Regions from separate parts of the Homo sapiens genome. Here region 2 is linked to region 1. Evidence: promoter capture Hi-C in human tissues and cell types (Jung and others, 2019). All regions are on one chromosome and are shown on one strand. Each heading gives the region's core, a stretch centred on a gene start or on the middle of the fragment in contact. The rest is flanking DNA. Distances are from core to core; before and after follow the strand shown.

Region 1 (7,026 bases), core at 3,816-6,315:
ACGCGCCATCCCCCTTCCCGCAGGAGCCCGCCGCCTCTGTTTACACACAGAGGAGGTGTCGTCTCCAGTCTAGACAAGGGCGCTAATAACGCCCATAAAAGGCGGCCTCTCCAGAGATGCTCTGGCAACTCCGCTCCCGCGCGCCTGCCGCTGGCCGCTTTCTCCACCTCCCCCCGCCCCGCCCTTCTCTGATACCTTGGCGAGGCCGGCGCACGGGCCTGGGGACGGGGAATCCAGAAGGCTTCTAGAGGCTGAGAATTCCTATCCCTCACCCTTATGAACCTCTTCTGTCTCCAAAGGTAAGTGGACCCTTGTTCCTGTCCGCGCTCTCCCAGCCTAGCGAGCCCCGGGGTTGGTAGTCCATTCCCCACCCCCACCTGCCTCCTGGTGGGGCCCATTGCTCCCACCCCAATCTGCCCAAGCCCCTTCCTCTGCCCGGAACTGGGGCCCCAGGTTTGGAAAGCAGTTGTGTAGCGGTGCTCAGCAGACCCTAAGCAGATCTCAGCTCCTCCCCAGAGCTGGGCCGGGCCAGTGGACAGGGTCAAAGCCAGAAAAGGAGGCCGAGGGGTGAGGGCACACCGGGTAGTCCTCACCCCCACCCAGCTTAGAGGTCGGTGGAGACGATTCACTGTTGCATTGCAGGCGGCTATGGGTGTGGCATTTGATGTGATTTTTTTTTTTAACTTGGTTCCCACACCTTCCCTGACACTCAGTAATTCACTAGGTGGAGGAGATCCTCTGCTGGTGGAGGGGGAAAATGTCAGAGCTGCGGCCCTATTTAACTGTTAGCGCGCCACCGAAGGAAACACAAAACGGGGGAAGGTGGTCCATTTAGGGATGCTCAGGTTGGGGTGGAGAGATGGCCTCCCAGATGTCCTTGCCTGGGGGCTCTCACTTCCCCCGCATTTTCTGAGAGGCAATCGGGCTGGAATCTTTTGGTGACAGAGGACTAGAGAAGCCGCGGGAGAACTGGAGAAGGTAGGGGCTCCGTTGGCCCCAGGCTACTTGCCTGAGCCTAAAAGCCTTACTGGGCTCCGTCACTGAGCGTTCCTACAAGCCTCCCTCCTCCAGGCTGCAAATCCCTAGAAAGCAGCACCTGGGGAAGGGATTTCCCAATCTGCTCTTTACCTCCCGGGCACCGGCAGGGAGGGCTGGGAGCCAGGTGGGCCCCAACCCCTGAAGGAGCCTGGAAGCCATGAAATAGGAGACTGAGCTCCCTACTCTACCCCCCAGCCTTGTTTGAACCCGACAAAAGTCAGGTCCCAAGCCTAAGTTGCCCCGAAGGGGCAAGGCAGACAGGGCTGCAGGGTTGGGCGGGGGGCAGGGAAGGGGGCAGGCCCTCCCACTCAGCCCCCTTCTCATCTTCCCTTCTCTCCGCCGGCCAAATCCCTGCTCACACCCCTGCTGGTGCTGAGTCCCGGCCTAATTTGCATACGAGGCAGAACCGCTTTCTGCAAACTAGACAGTGACCTTGAACTGGGCCGCTGCGGCCTCTGGACAGACCAGGGGTAAGGCAGCACTGCGCGGAATCACTCCCGACCACGGGTCGGCGGGGGAGCCAAAACGCAGTCACTCACAGCCGATTCCCCGCGGTCTAAGCCGCCAGCAGCCACGTTGCCTCTCCCACCAGAATCAGCGTAGATTTTATAATTAACTCCTTTCGCTGGGCTCAGCCGCAGTGGAGGCTGCTAGGATGCAGGAGGGATGGAGGCACAGAGAAGGTGTGAGAGAGGCGGCGGGGCATCCAGCTGGAGGACGAGCTGAGGGACACAGGCTGCCTTGGTCTTCAAGGAAAGCCTTGGACCACATCCTTGCTTTCAGCTTTAATTAACCCCGAGTTAATGAGCGAGGCTTAGTAGAGCCTGGCCAGCTGCGGCGGGAGCCAGTGGCCCAGGGGCCAGCAGGCAGGCCACCGCTCTAGCCTTGTGATCTGATAAATGTACGGGAGAGTTCGCACCAATCGCTCCACGGTTTGGGTGCCTCGGCCTGACCACCTATAGTTTTGCGCATGGTCAGCGAAGTGCCGGCGGGTTAAGCCCGGCTAGACACGGCTGCCCCGACTCCTTGGGATGCGAGTCCCTCGCCCAGCCCCAGCCTGCTCCCGGCGAACAGCTCTCGCCGAGGCTGGATTTAGATTTTAAGCGTCTCACCCGAGCCTCCCGCCGGCCCCGGGGACCCAGACTGGGAGCTGCATTTTTGTCCGAGCCCGGTTAAAAAACGGGTGCCTGAGTTGCGTGTGTCGCGGGGTTCCTTAACCACAAACGGAGCCTCGGTGGTGCACCGGAAGGCTGGACGCTTAGATTACCTGGGTCCTTGCCAGAGTCCTGAAAACCCCTAGGTTCCCGGTGGGTCTCAGGGAGCAGGACACCGGGGATGCGAATTTTGCTAGTGGTTGTCGACAGCTCTCCCTGAGAGGAATCAGGGTCAGCTGCAAAGAAGAAAGAGGGGTTTGTGCGTGCTTCTTTGCCCGCCGAATCCAAAACCTGGGGAAAACGGCCCTCTTTGATGAGGCTAAATCAGGCTAGAAGAAATGCGTGCCTGGAAGAAGGACGCCTTCACCCAATCTTCATTTCTCCTGCGTTGCATCCGCCGCCCTGTGGCCGCTGCTCCTCACGCTCAGCGGCCTGGCCTGGGAGGGCAGCGAGCAGAGCTCCCGGCCTGGGAGTTGCCTGCTGGGGTGGAGGGAATGGGGAGAGGCTGAGACCTTCCTCTTGGGGTCCCTCTTCTAGGAGATTGGAATTATCTGGGAAGGGAAAAGAGAATGAGGAGAATACTCCACCCCTCAAAGGCTAGTGATTATTTGGCAAAGCCCAGCTCGGCATCCCTCACACCAACAATAGCGGCTGAGCGCAGAGGCCTGGAGAGCCTGGGCGCAGACCTAGCTGCCCGCACGATGTTCTGATTGAAATCAACAGCAATATTAATGTCACACCCTGTTTATCTTTATGACCAAATTAACCCTCAAATAAAATGTTTTTTAAAAACTAAAATTTCAATGGCGCTCATCAATGTATCTTGAGAAGGGGAAATAAGATGTTACAGATGCTGTGACCTGGAATTTGCAGCTGAGAGATGCTCCTCTCCGTAGCCTCCCAGCCCCTTATCAGTTAGGCACAAAAAGGCCAATCCAGGCTGAGTCTCCTGCTCATTCCTTGGCGCCACCGGCTCTAACTGAAGGTGGCGGCTTCGGGTTTGCAGCCCATGGCTTGCCCTAAGTTCCGACAAGTGCGCCTAACGCGGGGCCGGCTCCTGGGGGCGGGAGGGGCTGGACCAGGCCGGGCAGCTAGGCAAGCAGGGGCGGGGAAGGGGAACCGGCCAAGCAGGGCAAGGGACAGGCACCGAGCTGCGAGCTTCGAACTGCTCCGGGCAGGGCGGCGCCCGCGGGGACACATTTCTGTCGGAGTGAGCAGCTACGGTTTGGGATATGAAATCGCCCGGGGAGCGGTGGAATTCAAAGAATCTGCGTTTCTCTCTGCCGCGTCCTGCAGAGGAGAGAGGGGAGGGAGAGGAAAAAAAGGGAGAATCTTCTCTGCTTCGATCTGCTTTTGCAGCTTTGGCTTATTCTCAGGCTTTCTCTGATATTTAACTTTCACCTAAATGGGTTTCTTTCTCATTCTCTCCGAATCTCTGTCTCCAATTTTCTTTCAATCTTCTGGTATTTTTTCGTATTTAGACGTTTACTGAACTATTTATCCAACCCTGTATTACTTAAGCCATGCATTGGTTAGAAGCTCGAAATAATCACATGGAAATTCGAGTGTTTTTTCTATTAGACCCCAAAAGGATACATCTGGTTTGGGGGAGTTTTATTTTGTCTTTCTTTTTAATCCGCTTGGCTGTGTTCTGTGGACCTAGTTGAGATCGGATTGTGGTTTTGCAGATGTTGATTATCTCACCAATGGCCAGCATTGCTTCTCGGCCTTCTCTGGAGGGAGCTTCTGAGTTTGCACCATAAATATAATTTCACCCCCCAATAAGATAATTCTTCAAGGGTTTTTTCCCTCAATCCTAGCCCCCTCAGGAGGCAACCTACTGCGGGCCTCTGCACTGCTATCTGATGGTCCCAGGGGCAGGCTTGGCCGGTTCTGGGGTGCAGTTGTCTCCTCCGCAGTGAGAATTAGGCCCCTCTCAGCCCAGTCAAGCCCTGTTAGGGGTCCAAAGCTTCCCACTGCAAAGACTCCAGGAGGCCCCCAGAAGCTCCTCAGTTCCCCGGAAATGACAGCAGAAGAGTAGTTCGCCCCCAGATTTTCAGGAGCAGGCAGGCAGGTCCATGTGGAGCTAGGCACCTCCTTTTGCTGCATTCTCTACCTCCCTTCCGCATCCTTCCTCTAGCCGTGAGTGGAGGTGTGAGGCTGGGTGGCTCCCGGCTCCAGAGGAAAACCCGGCATTATCAATTATCCTTGAGTATTGGGGAAGAGGACTCCAAATGTCTCTCCAAATTCCTGAGGATAAAGAGCTGATAAAGAAGTGTGCAGCAGCAGCTGGGGCGGGAAGAGATAACGGCAGGGAAACCTGTCCTTACCCCCACTTCGCCTCTACTGTAAATAAACCCCGAGCCAAAGGGCTCATCCGTCTCCTTAAACAGTCAGTAAACTTTATATGACACAATATCTAATAGTAATTTATTGAGGAGATATTGTAAATTCCAACGGTTTTAGTTAATAAAGAAGCTAATTAAAGAGGGACAGGCTGTGCTTGGCCAGCTGTTGGCGATAAGATAATATATGGGGGGGGGTGCAGGTTATAGGGGTGTATATATGCGGGCATTTTTTGGTGTGTGTTTTTTCCCTTTTGCCCCGTGTTGGGCAATTGCTTTACTCTCTGCGTTAGGTTATATACATTGTTTTAGAAAATCAGTTCAGCAAATAAACCTGCCCCCGCCCTTTGTTACCCCACTCACCCCCAGGATTGGGGAAGGGGGAAGTTAGAGTGCGGGATGGGATGGTGGGGGGGGGGGATCGGTTGTCCCCACCCCTCCCCCTGGCGGCCGTGCCCACGTGAGTGGGGCGGCCAATGGGTGACTGGTGCAGATTTAACTATGTTTAATGTCAGATAGCAATAAAGTAGAAGCTGCCGGTCGGGCCCCGCGGAAATGGGCGAGCATAATCTCCTGAATCCCGGGTTTGTGGGGCCGCTGGTAAACATCCACACGGGAGACACCTTCTACTTCCCCAACTTCCGCGCGTCCGGGGCGCAGCTTCCCGGGCTGCCTTCGCTGTCCTACCCACGCCGCGACAACGTGTGCTCCCTGTCCTGGCCGTCGGCGGAGCCGTGCAATGGCTACCCGCAGCCCTACCTCGGCAGCCCAGTGTCTCTCAACCCTCCCTTCGGCCGCACGTGCGAGCTGGCGCGCGTGGAGGACGGCAAGGGTTACTACCGCGAGCCGTGCGCCGAGGGTGGCGGCGGGGGCCTGAAGCGTGAGGAGCGCGGGCGCGACCCGGGAGCCGGGCCCGGGGCAGCGCTGCTCCCGCTGGAGCCGTCGGGGCCGCCTGCGCTCGGCTTCAAGTACGACTACGCGGCGGGCGGCGGCGGTGGCGACGGCGGCGGCGGCGCAGGACCTCCGCACGACCCGCCCTCCTGCCAGTCGCTGGAATCCGACTCCAGTTCGTCCCTGCTCAACGAGGGCAACAAGGGCGCCGGCGCAGGCGACCCCGGCAGCTTGGTATCGCCGTTGAACCCCGGCGGCGGGCTCTCGGCCAGCGGTAAGGACCCCGGCCACTCAAGCGGCGGATTCAAACCCGACCTCTTACCAGGGCGGGCAGAACAGGACTGAGCTAGGGACGCCCAGGGTGACAGAATGTGTGGCGAGGAAGAGCTTCTTATAAAATGAAGTGCGGGTGGGGGGAGCCTATAAACATGTAAACATCCCCACAAAAGAAATGGAGAGTGTTCCTTTTTCGTCTGCCTGCGGCTGGAGGCGGCAGGGATTCCGGAGTTGGGGGATCCTGACGGGGACTCCCCAGGCCTGGGGGTGAGGAGGTGGGGACAGAAAGCCCGGCCCTAGTTCTCCCAGGCGCCTCTCCCTCCACCTTCCCACAGACCCCATTACTTACATTTCGAAAGAAATGCCAGTGGATGCGTTTACTCTGCCATTCGCCCATATCTGTTGTAACTGATCCGGGATCCAGTCCTGAAGGATGTGAGAGGAAGGGACCAGGAAATAGGGAAGAAGAAAATTGGGGAGAGGTTTGGGAAAAAAGGAGGGGATAGGGACTTAGAAGGGTCATGAATAGTGCAGCAGGAGGTAGGGTTGAGGAGGTAAGAGCAAAGAATGAAAGGAAAAAAAAGAGTAAAGAAAGTGGGGGAGTTGGTGGGGATGTGGGTCTGGGTAGAAAAGACGATTCAGATGACTGGCGGCAAGGAGAAGGGAGAGAAAGGGCCTGGAGTCCAGCTGTGAGGCGAAGGTGAAAGGGTCTGGGGAAGGGCCAAGGGCACTGGACTGGTCACCCTTTGATCCTTTGGCCAACCCCTGCCATTCATCTCCACCCAGGCGCGCCCTGGTACCCGATCAACAGCCGCTCTCGGAAGAAGCGCAAGCCCTATTCGAAGTTGCAACTGGCAGAGCTGGAGGGCGAGTTTCTGGTCAACGAGTTCATCACACGCCAGCGCCGGAGGGAACTCTCAGACCGCTTGAATCTTAGTGACCAGCAGGTCAAGATCTGGTTTCAGAACCGGAGAATGAAAAAGAAAAGACTTCTGTTGAGGGAGCAAGCTCTCTCCTTCTTTTAAGGTGCAGGACACGGGCGCCAGCCCCAGACTGAGCCTGTCCCTGGCAGAGAGCAAAAGAGGGCGCCGCCTAGAACACAGTCCCCACTTAGAACGCCAGGCGTCTCTGGCAGGCCCTCCCTGGATATCCTCTTGTCTGTTTTGTTCGTGGTTCCCTCCCATACACACCCAAAACACCCTGCCAGGTCCCAGAGAGAAGGGAAGAAACCTAGCCAGGGAGAGCAGAAGCCGGCAGCTGCCTGCGGTTGGCAGGGGCAGGAAGGCTGAGGTGCTGCGGGCTGGTTTATTTGAGGCAGGACT
Region 2 (6,614 bases), core at 3,548-6,047, 130 kb after region 1:
ATCTGTTTGGTAGCCCTGGAGCAGGGCTGAGGCATAGAGAGAAACCTTTCCTTCAGCCAGGTTGTCTGTCTCGCACTGATTTATTTTTGTTTTATTTGTGGATTTCTTAATGGACCCAATGGTGGTTCCTCTTTGCACCCCTCGGATTGACAGGCAATTCCTTCCTAGCCCAGGTCTCAGCTCTGGTTTAGTTTTCATAACTTGGGGGTCCAGGGAGCCAGGAGACTGGAGATAGAAAGCAGAAGTGCACTGGGGTGGTGGGTCTGCCTTGGCTTACCCCCAAATTTCCAGATTCCAGGTGCCTTGCTCCAGTACCCGCCCCATCCTAGGCTCAGGATGCTCTCCCACCCTACTAACCACCGGTCCGGTCAAAGCCCAAGCTGCTGCCAGCCGCCATGTTATCTCCCAGCCTGGCTAGGGTGCCTGCTAGCCTGCAGTGGCTATGGTGGTGTGCAGAGGGAGGGTGAGTTTTTATATTGACTGCCATTCCGTTTACCTCAAGAAGTATGTTTGGGCAACCATTCTGTGCCAGACAGCAGACAGAGTCCCTGCACTGCAGGAATTCCTAGTCCCGTGGGCAGGGGTGTGTGGAGGGTGGCACATGGTGGTTAGCCTGGTCCAAGGGTCTCCACTCCCTTCCTAGCATCCTAGAGATCCTGGAGGCCAGGTTGGCCACGGAGACTGAGTTCAGGATAATTCCTTCACACATTCAACGAAGTTATCTGTAACTCCCTGTTTAAAAACAACAACAACAACAACAACAAAAAACCACAAAAACTGGCAGTCGTGGGAGGTATTTCCCCACTGGGCTGGTTGGCAGCAGGGGAAGAATTGGGGACCCCTGGCCCAGCGGTGCCTGGAAGGAGGCTGATGTAAGAGTGGTGTAGCTGTGAGTGGGAGAAGTGAGATCTAGTGGGGTAAGTCCACGTTCCCTGTTCCTAAACTCAAATTCTCCCTGAAAAGACCCAGGGCAGCACTGTTAGGGAGCTGAAGGAGTCCCTCTGTGCCCAGAGGGAATTAGGCCACTCAGGCCTCAGAGAAGGAGGGCGGGTGGTGAGGACAACCTCCCCAAGCCCCCATCAGAGCAGGCCCAATACTTGCAAATTCACTCCTCAGTCCACTAGATTCTGGTCCCATCCTACATCCCCGCCAAGGCACAGGAGGCCCAGATAAAAACAAGCTTTATTTGGCCAAATTAACTCACTTTCCTGGATTACCTCACTTATCGGAAAGTGAAAGTACACCCCACGCTCCTCGCCCTGTCCCTGCCTAAACCTCTTTATCTCTGAAGCCCACTCTTTGAGACCTAAAAATTAGGGTTCAACAGAAACGCTCTAGGACTACAGGAGGGACACGACAGTCCCTATCCTACAGCGCACTAAAAGCCAAACTGAAGGCTGCTTCCTCGGTGGAGAGTGTCTCAGGGTGAGGTGGTGGGACTGTTCGCCGCTTCCCATTTTACAAGCTCCTTGTCCACAGCCGTCTGCGCCAGCCCCTCACAAAACCGGTTCTCGCCTTCTGGTGGGTGCTGGTGTTTACCCCTTTCCTCCCACTATCTGTTCAAACCCAGCCCACCCACCCTCCATTCACCTCCCCTCCTTAAGGCTCCCTGAGCTCTATTTACCCTTTTGTAACTCCATCCCTCCATAAGTACACAACTCTCCTAGCTGGTTTCCTAGAGGGCAGATACAGTGTTTCCAGTTGGCCCTCTGCAGATATCTGTGAACAAGTCTCTCCCATCCCCTACATATAAAGATGTCTGTTCTAGACAAACGGGCCTAAGTCCCAACGTAAAAACATCACAAGATAATTACACCTTATATACATACAGATCTCTCTATAGAGTTATATTTGAAAGTGTCTATAACTCTAGAGAGAGATTGCAGCATGCACATATAGGACTATAATTATTTATGTCTATTTTTATAACTATGTAGTTATAAATAGATATGCCTATATATAGTGATAATAATATAGAAATATCTCCATAGCCATATATGGCTCTAAGTGAATGCTCTAACTACTCTATTTCACAATCAATAAGTATATATCTCCTGATACATAATTCTAACAATATACGTTTTTATCTATATAGCTGTTCAGAGATATAAATCTGTCAGGATATCACATGTACATAAAGCCGGATGGCTGTAAGAGAGTCGTATATTTTCCCATATATAAATCTGCTCCTATAACTACTGTATATGCACAAATACAATGGAAATAATTATATTTCCCTCAAACATAAATCTGTAAATACAACCACAGCACATTTAGGTACGGTTAGACATAGAGCAATATTTCCTAGACATCAGTCTGTCAATAGAGCCACCAGTGCCTCCAAACAGAGAGTTATAGAGGGAGTTATAAATAAACTCTCCAGATGGGAACCGGTCAGTAGAACTAGATGTAAACATGACTCCAAGCTGTTCTTTCTTCTTCTTCTTCTTCTTCTTTGTAAGATATTCCTGAAGCAAGCCCAGTCATATAACAGGGTGCAGAGGTGTCTGGGTACTGGTATTTTTCCCCCCAGGAGGGTCGGATGTCGCTGGACTTTGGGAAACCGAGCAGGAGTAGATAGGGGACAGTGCCCGCTCCCAACGCAGCCCAGAAGTCCCTTCCTTCTGTCTCCTGGTGGCTGAGAGCTCGGGCAAGTGGAGAGGCCTAAGGGAGAAAAATGAAAAAGCAGAGTCTGGCTTGAGTCGTTTGGCCCTTCGGCCTAAAACCCTCTCAACAGGGAAGCCCCGACCAGGCGTCGGAGCGGAGAGAGCCCACGAGGCCCAGAGGCTGGGGGAAAGGGGCTGCAGGCCAGGCTGCGGAGGCCGAGCGGAGTCCCCAGCCGGTGCCTGATCGCCCGGCGCCCCATCGCCCGGGGCCGCTGCCTCGCCGGCGGCCTGGAACACAAAACCTGGGCCCTAGCCCTGCACCCTGCGCTCAGCGCTTCCACCGGTCTTATTTTATTGCTGTTTTGTCCGATTAGGTATCGCAGCGTCCTCCACCCGGTGTTGTTCTCAAATGCGAAGGAACCCAGGGCTTTCTGAATATATGTGTGTGTGTGTGTGTGTGTGTGTGTGTGTGTGCGCGTGCTGGCTTTAAATAAGTGACTCACTGGATAGTGTATTTCTCTTTTCAGACCAAATGGGTCACCGGCTACTGAAAAAGAATCCAGACCTCTGAAAGGGTTTGTGACAAATTTTTTAGAAGTTCTCACGCTCATCTGTTATGATGATTTTCTTTTCTTTTTTCTCTTTTAAAAAAGTTGGCTAATTTGTGTTTCTATATTCCTCTTTAATTTTATTTTTATTGGGGGTACAATTGTTTTTAAAGGAGGGATTTCGTTAGACCCGAAACTGTGGGGTGGCTTCCTCTCTAGCAAACTTACTATCTCTACCCCTGTGATTCCCATCTCCCCCAAGAAAACAAACTAATTAAATGACCAGAAAACTGTACCTGGAGAGAATGAGGTAGATGTTGCCGGATCCGGGACCGCGGTCTTTGCTTGCTTCATGAAAAATCGGCTAGTCTCCAAACTCGCGAAGGAAAATTCAAGGCGCCTCAACTCCTCCTTCTAAATTTTTTAATAAAGAGCCTAGAAAGGGAACTTTCCCTGGGCCTGCCGAAGCCCCAGCCTGGCTCTCCCAACTCCCCAGCGGCCATAAGTGTTTTTCTGCTTCCGTTCGGGCCCCCAGTCTTCCCGTCTTCCCGGGCATCTCTGAGCTCTTGCCGGATCAAGGCTGTGGTCATCGCCTCATTCATCTCTGCCCCTTGGCCTGAGCCTGCACATTTGGCCTCCTTCTTAAAACAGGGGCTCCTAGAGAGTCCCAAAAGCCATTAACCATCCCCATATGTGGGATCCCTTCCCTGATCACACAAAGCAGAAGCCTGAGAAAAAAAGCAATAAAGAGTGGCCTCCTGGCCCTCCTTCCCCTCTTCTGTCCCTTGTCTGGGAAAGGGGTTCCCAACCCCAGCCCCGCCAAGAGCATATTAAGAAGCTTTCTTCCTCCCTTCCTTTCCTATCTCCCCCTCAGATGCTGTGATCCTGACTCCTTCTTCTGTCTCCACCTCAAAATATTTCCTCTTGCATTTTATTGTTATTCTGTTATGGAGGGACTGTTAACTACTGTTTTATTATTATTATTCATTATTTATTGTTATTATGATTGTTGTTAGAGATTTGTTCACCACCGTTCAGGGGACAGCAGCCTGGCCCAGGGGGAAGCCTGCCTCTCTCTCTCTGTCTCTCTCTCTCTCTCTCTCTCTCTCACACACACACACACACACACACACACACCCTAACACAGTGCACACTCACGCATATATGCTCACAAATGCCTGCTGTGTTCAGGCCCCTGCACAGCAATCCGAAGAGGCAGGCATCCTACCCCAGCACCCAAACAACACACTGCCCATGCACACCAGCATTCAGGCAGAACACCACCCCCAGACCAACGCCAAAACCCACACGCACCGAGCTTGCAAGGAAAGGAAAATACGTAAAGAATCCCTTCTCTCCCACAACCTGGAGGGGCGAGTCAGGCCTCTGTCTCTTCCCCCCAGTCGCTTTCGCTTTCTCTTTTTTTTTTCTCCTTGTTTACAGCTTCAGAGAGCTCAAGGCCCATAAATCTTGAGGGGCCTACAGAGCGCAGAGCACATTTGTATGCATCGTTAGGACTCGCTAATACCTAAGCCCATTAAGGAGCGTGTATGCGCGTGGTTTCCGGTGTGTATTAACTTATAGTTAAATTCTGGAGGAAAGGGCATTGTGAATTAACATATACCAAATCCATCATGGGCTTTTGTCATATCAGATTAGTCAGTCATGGGTTTGGGGGAGCAACTTGCCTGGGTCGGGGTGTACCCACCCTTCAAACTTTGTGGAGCAGGCCCGGGGGTCTTGGGAAACACGAAGGCATTCCTATCCAGCCCCAGTCATTCGGATCCCCCAGGCCTAGCGGCTGCACACCTGCGAGATGGCGGAGGGACTGCAGACCCGGGTGCGGGAGACCAGCGCCGGCGAAGACAGGCGGGCGAGGGAGGCCCCTCCAGCGTCCTGCTGGGGTTGAGTTGGGGCGGCTCGTCCCGTGGCCGCTGGGTCGTCTGGTTTCCGCTTTCCGAAAGAAATGAGAGGAGAGGCAAGTGGAGTCGCTGAACTTTAATTAAACCGTAGAGAAGACAGTGGGGGGAGGGGAAAAAAAACGATCGGAGAAGGAGGAGAAGGCGGCCGAGAGATCGAGGAAAGGAAGTCCTGGCGGCTCGGGGGAACTTGGAGATCTCTCCAAGGGGCTGAAAGCTGGAAGTTGTATGAAGGTGTTCCTTTTCCACACCCCAGCTACTCTGCCCCAGTCGAAGAGGCTAATTCTGGCCCTCTTATAAAAAAAAGAAAGAAAAGGTAAAGAAAAAGAAAATCTAATTATGTGGCATGTTTCAGCCAGGTGTTCCTGGTTCCAATGACTCAGACCCTATTGGAGCCCCGAGGATCTGGATAATTGGGCCTGCATAGACAGAGATGAAGGATGCCATTTCTAAAAGGAGGAAGGGGAAAGGAAAGTCCATCTCTTGGGGTCTTGTAGAAAATGCCAAAGACCAAACGAGCTAAATTATTGTGTCCGTGTAGATCTATTTGCCTATTTACATACAGCAGGCTGTGTGGGTGGGGGGTGAGGGAAGGCAAGGAATAAACGACCAGGATGGAGCGGGCTGGCAGTAGAGAAAATGAGCCCCCCGCCCTTTGCGGGAACAGCCAAGGGGCCTCCTCAGCTCGCAGCTCAGGCGGCCGTGCGGCGGGCCGGTCCGGGGCCGGGGGCCGGGGCCGGGGCCGGGGCCGGGGCCGGGGCCGGGCTGGGGGAGGGGAGGCGGGGGCGGGAGGGGAGGCGGAGGCGGGCCCTCCCCTGGCGCTGTGAACTTTAGCTGGGCCGCCGCCTGTCAGCCCCAGAAAGCGTTAAAGGTGCAGCAGCTCGCGCCAGCCTCCGCAGCCGCCTTTGTACGCGTGATTTATGACTTCAATCTTGGTTCACCGAGAGTTCACACGGCTTTCGCTGCTGTTGAAGGTTAAAAGATGGTCTTCGCTTGACAAGTGGGACTATTGAAAATTCCTTCTTCTTTTTTTTTATTTTATTTTAGAAGCGAAGAGCAGAGGCTCAGGAGAGAAAAAAATTGGGGGGGGGGGGCGGGAGACAGGGGTTGCAGGTGGGCCAAAATGGTAGGTCAGGAAGGTTTGTCTTCCTATATTTGGGATTTTTTGTTGCTAGGATTTGTGTGCGTGTTGGGGAGAGGGTAGAGAATAAGAGGGAGCTAGGCAAGAGATGTAAAGATCTCTCATATTTAGAGGCCAAAGGAGTGGGAAAAAAAAAAAACAACTCGTGCTTCCACCGTTAATTATCTGGGTAACTTGGGTCACACCCCCTAACTGATCCTCCTCTAGAGACCGGAAATGGGCCAGGTAAGGGAGAGAGTTTGGGTAAAGGGTAAGGTTTGTGTGCTTCTCACTGGGTGTACTTGATCATCCACCTTACTTGGGTAACTACTTTTTTTTTTTTTTTTTTTTTTTTTTGGAAATGGGGTCCAGCTCTGTTTCCCAGGCTGGAGTGTTGTGGCACCATCATAGTTCACTGAAG

What was found. Contacts are between HindIII fragments. The study calls those that stand out against the background at their distance.
Region 2: a fragment that was not itself captured here is called in contact with the fragment with the promoter of HOXC12 in region 1 in 3 of the 25 tissues and cell types used here (H1 embryonic stem cells, neural progenitor cells and thymus).

The regions. Positions count from the first base shown.
Region 1 is chr12:53,949,838-53,956,863 of GRCh38, forward strand. It overlaps HOXC12 (homeobox C12), which reads left to right and starts at 5,066. Exons shown (of 2, transcript NM_173860.3): 1 at 5,066-5,702; 2 at 6,491-7,026. The coding sequence starts at 5,093. The coding sequence ends at 6,729. LOC105369775 (a long non-coding RNA gene) reads right to left here and starts at 6,590. Exons shown (of 3, transcript XR_944977.2): 1 at 6,505-6,590; 2 at 6,054-6,130; 3 at 3,548-4,442. RefSeq lists an enhancer at 1,705-2,292. The HindIII fragment of the contact is 7,954 bases long and covers 1-5,762 here.
Region 2 is chr12:54,076,777-54,083,390 of GRCh38, forward strand. All of the region lies in intron 1 of FLJ12825 (a long non-coding RNA gene), which reads left to right. LOC100240735 (a long non-coding RNA gene) reads right to left here and starts at 5,047. Exons shown (of 3, transcript NR_026658.1): 1 at 4,863-5,047; 2 at 3,451-3,568; 3 at 2,063-2,664. RefSeq lists a silencer at 2,769-3,063 and an enhancer at 4,361-4,580. The HindIII fragment of the contact is 4,422 bases long and covers 2,587-6,614 here.